Linked DNA regions of Homo sapiens: region 1 is linked to region 2. The links are contacts of gene promoters, found by promoter capture Hi-C in blood cells and fetal thymus (Javierre and others, 2016). All regions are on one chromosome and are shown on one strand. Each heading gives the region's core, a stretch centred on a gene start or on the middle of the fragment in contact. The rest is flanking DNA. Distances are from core to core; before and after follow the strand shown. Region 1 overlaps SRRM1 (serine and arginine repetitive matrix 1). Region 2 holds the start of SRSF10 (serine and arginine rich splicing factor 10).

What was found. Contacts are between HindIII fragments. The CHiCAGO score rates a contact against its expected background, and 5 or more counts as called.
Region 1: a contact is called between a fragment that was not itself captured here and the fragment with the promoter of SRSF10 in region 2, in 1 of 17 cell types (non-activated CD4 T cells). The highest score is 5.3, in non-activated CD4 T cells.

What each region holds. Positions count from the first base shown.
Region 1 is chr1:24,646,261-24,648,960 of GRCh38, reverse strand. SRRM1 (serine and arginine repetitive matrix 1) reads right to left here. Exons shown (of 17, transcript NM_005839.4): 3 at 2,172-2,294; 4 at 1-102. Among named protein-coding and RNA genes, the nearest start is that of SRRM1, 4.3 kb to the right of the region's middle. The HindIII fragment of the contact is 4,299 bases long and covers 1-2,700 here.
Region 2 is chr1:23,978,903-23,981,602 of GRCh38, reverse strand. It overlaps SRSF10 (serine and arginine rich splicing factor 10), which reads left to right and starts at 1,276. Exons shown (of 6, transcript NM_054016.4): 1 at 1,276-1,412. The coding sequence starts at 1,348. RefSeq lists enhancers at 952-1,001, 68-1,058, 1,012-1,341, 1,772-1,821, 1,059-2,049. The HindIII fragment of the contact is 15,744 bases long and covers 1-2,700 here.

The sequences.
Region 1 (2,700 bases), core at 139-2,638, 670 kb before region 2:
TGCACTTAGCAGCAGGGGCCACAGTTCTCCCATAAATTCTCGAGCATTTTTTCCATTCAAAAATCCAGTCAGGTTGATTTGCATCATTTTGGAGTCTGGATTCTGCAAAAAGACACGACAGGAAGAAAAACAGGTTACTTCAAAACCAACCAACCAACAAATCAACCAACCTAAAACTCATTTAAATTAGTATTTTTTAAGTCTACCATAGGGGCTTAGACATATATATAGTCCTTACTATTTTACAAATAGTCTTCCCTAGTAGCTTCTCAGCAATATAATCTCTAACAGATTACCAAATTCTCTCTCACTCTACCAAAAGCATCAGAGCAGCCTGTTAATCCTTTGTGGATTTCGTAAGTATTTTTAGACTCTGTGGCTGTTAGTGGGCCTTACATTTATTAACTTTAAAAACCATCATGAAACATCCACAAATTCTAGTATTTACTAACAAGAAAAGTATTTGCTTGCCTGGAAATTTTCCCCCAATGAGAAACGGAAAAAGTACATAAACTGCTCCCTAACACTACAGATAGCTTTGCATAAAATATCTATTGTCCAGTTATGAAAACTAACAAGTTATGCATGCAGTCTGTAACTTCTGAGGGCTAAGCTAAAGGCCTGAGTTTTATATAAGGAAAATCTATTATAACAATGCCTCAAATTCTCAACTGTCCACAAAGTGCTAAGAGGTCAAGATTTCTCAAAAATAATTGGGTTTTTAAATGCTAAATCCGTTGGTCAAGCAACAAGGTCTGTATAACAAGCACAGCTCAATAGCACAAAGCAAGTACAGATTCCAGGTGTCTTCAGTTTCTTCTTGGAACCTTGGGGGTTTGGAATCGCCAAGTCCCCTGTAGAGAAAGATGTTCCCTTGGCTTGCTTCCGACTCCCTACTGCAACTCAACCACCTTGAGTTTAATGTTATATCATTTATCTAAATTGCAAAAGACGAACAAGCAATAATGAGTACACAACCACAAAAAAAGAATTGTCTTAAAAAGTTCTAAACTTTAATCTCATGCTCACTACAAGGGGAATACTACCAGATACTTAGGTTTTTAAAATGCACTAAAATACACATCAGTAAAGCATTTCTCCAATAAAATCTATCTTCAATCATCATTTAAAAAACTTTCTCCCCTGTTCCTGGTTTTCTAAGATGCATATACTTTATAGAAAGTGCATTCTTAAAATTAGTCTTTAAAAATATTCAAAACAAAATACAAACACCAAATTATTTTAAAACTAGAAATACCTTATCAGTTGAAATGCCAACTGTTCTGTCAAAACATAGGGTGAACTCTTTGGGGGAAATGATTAATGTAAAAGTAAATTCACATTGGTATATATGCAAAAAGGTCATATGGTACATATCTTAACTGTCCTTTGGGTTGCTGTGGCAAAACAGAAACTGTCTTACAATAAGAATGTTCTTAAACATCAGTTATATCATCATATTATCTCATGTATAAAGGAACAATTATATGCTGCCAATTTGTCTGAAGTTTAAGTATAAACAAAAATCCTGTCTCTAAAATGTAACTGATGACTAGCTGACATGCAGCTACAAAGACCTTAGTTCCTTTAAAAACAATATCCAATCAAATCAGAATTGCCCCTCATGCTTCACATAAATGTCCATCTCATAATAGTATTTTAAAAGAGCAGTGTACAGCTTTACCCAATTGCTCTTTCCTGTTTGTGTTTTTTGTTGTTGTTGTTGATGTTTGGCCACTTTACACAACTCACCTCCAAACACACACTGCATCATCAAGGGAGTTGGGTCAGAGCGACATTGGGACACTCACTCTGCTGTGACCTAATAAGGTGATGGTGCTATACTTCAGACGCAAGGAATAACTTCCATTTTGGTTCAGGCCTTTTAAATCATAAATCACATTATCATTAGAAAATTGCTGTCAAAGTAACTTAACATGTAACAGCAAAATTACAAACAATAAGTTTGATTTTTCACCTGTGTAGCTTTCAAAACTATGCACCTTCACTAAACTTCCAGCCTTAATAGTTGTTTACAAAGTGAATTCTTTTCACAACAAACATTGTAAAATAACCCTTCTATATTTGCACTCCATAGAAAAAATTCAGTTTCCAAAGATTCACAAATTATATCACATATTCAGAAACAAGAGCCATTTGTATATTAGTACCTTCACTTCCAGCTGGTTGAATATAAACTCAATCACAACATCATCTTCAAACCCAAGGATTTCCGTTACTCTTTTTGTTATCCAAGGCTTTATAACCTCCAAATTTACTTTGCTCATGTCCACCTGATGAAACATAGAAACAATTAAGTACAACTTCACAATCCTAAAAAAAAATGCTCAAGTTAGAGTTCTGTCTACCAAAGTTCCTTTTAGCTTAGTTTTTTTGTTTGGCATAGTAGAATCTGCTAATTTTTTTTTTTTTTTTTTGAGACAGAGTCTTGCACTCTTGCCCAGGCTGGAGTGCAGTGGTGCTCAGCTCACTGCAAGCTCCGCCTCCCAGGTTCGTGCCATTCTCCTGCCTCAGCCTCCCAATTAGCTGGGATTACAGGCACCCGCCACCACGCCCGGCTAATTTTTTGTATTTTTAGTAGAGACAGGGTTTCACCGTGTTAGCCAGGATGGTCTCAATCTCCTGACATTGTGATTTGCCCGCCTCGGCCTCCCAAAGTGCTGGGATTACAGGCGTGAG
Region 2 (2,700 bases), core at 27-2,526:
TTTGCTATTTTCATGCTCATTCTCTTACAAACGTGGAGTTTTCCAGAGGGTACATGATGTGTGATAAAGGGTAGTGGAGTGTGTCAAAGTTTTCTCTATTTTTTTTTTTTTTCTTTTTTGAGACGGAGTCTCACCCTGTCGCCCAGGCTGGAATGCAGTGGTGCAATCTCGGCTCACTGCAACCTCTGCCTCCCGAGTTCAAGCGATTCTTCTGCCCCAGCCTCCCAAGTAGCTGGGATTACAGGCGCGCGCCACTACGCCTGGCTAATTTTTGTATTTTTAGTAGAGATGGGGTTTCACTGTGTTGGTCAGGCTGGTCTCAAACTCTTGACCTCGTGATCTGCCCGCCTCGGCCTCCCAAAGTACAGGGAGGGATTACAGGCGTGAGCCACCGAGCCCAGCCGAAGTTTCCTCTATTTTAAGTTCTCATTAACTATTTATTAATAGGTATAACCCACACTTTTTTTAAAAAAAGCTCTTTGGAATCTTCCGTAATACACAAGAATATAAAGGCGTTCTGAGACCAAAAAGTTTGAGAACTGCTGCAATACAGGTCCGATGCATACCCAGGAAGCCGTCAGCAACAAAGAATACACTACAAATGACCACAGTCATGAACCTACAGTGTGAGGTTTGGTCCCACCCAGGTTGGGAGCCAAATGCGTGACTAAGTGGAGATGGCTAGGGTGTGGGTGAGGGGCAAAGGCAGGCTGAAAACACTGGAGAGACAGGCCCAGCTCTGCGCAAGGGCACACACCTCCTTCCTTTACACACTCAATACAAGCTGTAAATCCTTCTTTCGCAGGTCAGGGCATAACCTGGACCAAACGGGAAATTTAAGGCAAAATAAAAGCAGGACATTAACTTGGACCAACCGGGAAATTTAAGGCAGCCTCTCTGAACTAAATAGTTTAAAAATCTGTCCATTTAGTAGTAACCGCAAAGTTTGGCCTAGAGACTAAAACATCTGCTTCCTGATTTGGGGGTGGAGATGAAGTGGAGTGTAAGGTAGAAAACGGCGGGAAATGAAGACCTAAAGAAAGAAAGAACAGGCTTGGGGGAGGGTAAGAGGCACCGCAAGAAGCCAACGAATGACACCGACGCTGAGGCGCGTGCGCCAGCCCTCCGCATGCGCAGGCGGACGCCTGGTGTTCTCGCGGGAAAGAACCGTTGCGCCCGACTTTGCGCGGAGGTAGGAGGGGGAAGTGGAGGCGGGAGTGAAGTCTCGCGAGAAGAGTCGGTTGCCGTAGCAGAGCCCTCTAGCTGTGTGTGTCTGAGGCTCGGCCGCCTGAGCCGCGGACGGTTTGCTGAGCCCGTTAGTGCGCCCGGCCGAGACACGCCGCCGCCATGTCCCGCTACCTGCGTCCCCCCAACACGTCTCTGTTCGTCAGGAACGTGGCCGACGACACCAGGTAGGTACAAGGCAGGTACTCCGGGCCTAGGCGGGGAGGCCGCAGGCGCCTGGAGAGGACCCTGGTGGTGGCGGCACTGGGCCGGGGGAGGGGACGGAGTGAAGATGGCGGGTCCCGCGCCCGCTTTGGCGCCGAACTAGGCCGCGCAGCGGGCCTCAGCCGCCGCGTGGGAGCGAGGGCGGCGCCTCTGCCTTCGCCGGGCCGCGTGGCGGGGTTTTTCGGTCCCCCTCCCCCTCCGCAGTTTGCAGCCCCTTTCTCCCTGCTTCCTGCCGGCGCGAGCAGCCCCCCGCCGCGGCCTTTCCGCGACCCGACGGCCGCCCCCCATTGATTTGAAGTTCACATTCTTCGAGGTTCACGCCCCCTTGGCCCAGAGATTTTTTTTTTTCCCCAGCCAAAAAATAGTGAGATGAAATAACGGGATCGAGGGAGAGGAATGTTGCTACCATTTATCTTTGTTGTTGTTGCCGTTGTTAATATTTGGGGGTTTTAATCAGTTGGAGGTGTTTGGAGAAAGGGAGCGTTGAGATTTGGGGAGTTAGATTTTTCCAGTTAAATGTTGCGAGTAGTTTTTCTTATTTCCTGGAAATTCTGGTCACCCTTTGAAAAGGGAGGTTTGGGAAGCGTCAGTCATTAGGACGTTGACAGCTAAGTTAGATTAATTCAGACGTACCTTAAATAGGCTTTGTTCTCACCATTCCCTTGTTTCGAGTTGCCTTCAGATTATTTTGGAAGAGTTCTTACTACAAGATGAGGCTTTTTATTTCACAAATAATGAATCTACACACAGAAAATAAGTGGTTTGGGTTTTTGGTGTTTCGTGGGGGTTTTTTGCTAGCTTTGTGATTTGCTTTTGTCTTAAATTTAAGAAGGAAAGAAAGCAATAATTCTTTCCATAAATAATTCTTTCCATAATTTCTAATAGTTACGTTAGCATCTAGAGAAATTTTCTCTTTACGTCATCTTGACACTTAACTATTTAAGAAGTTCGATATTTGTGACTTTTTCAGACCATATTTATCTACTGTTAAGTGTGTAAATCTGTCGCTAAAATTGGGGAGTAAAAATAAGTGCTTGGTATTTTTCAGAGTGCTAGAGTCGATTTGATGCTGTAAAAGTAAAAAAAAAAAAAAAAACAAGGCTTATATACAACCTAATGCTGCTGTACCTTTTATGAAAAATGACGGCTGTAGATAAAAATAAGTTGTGGTCATTCCCTTGTACCATACATATGTCTGCTGTTGTCCTGTTAATGTAAACTGCATTTTTATCTTCCAAATTCTTGGATCCT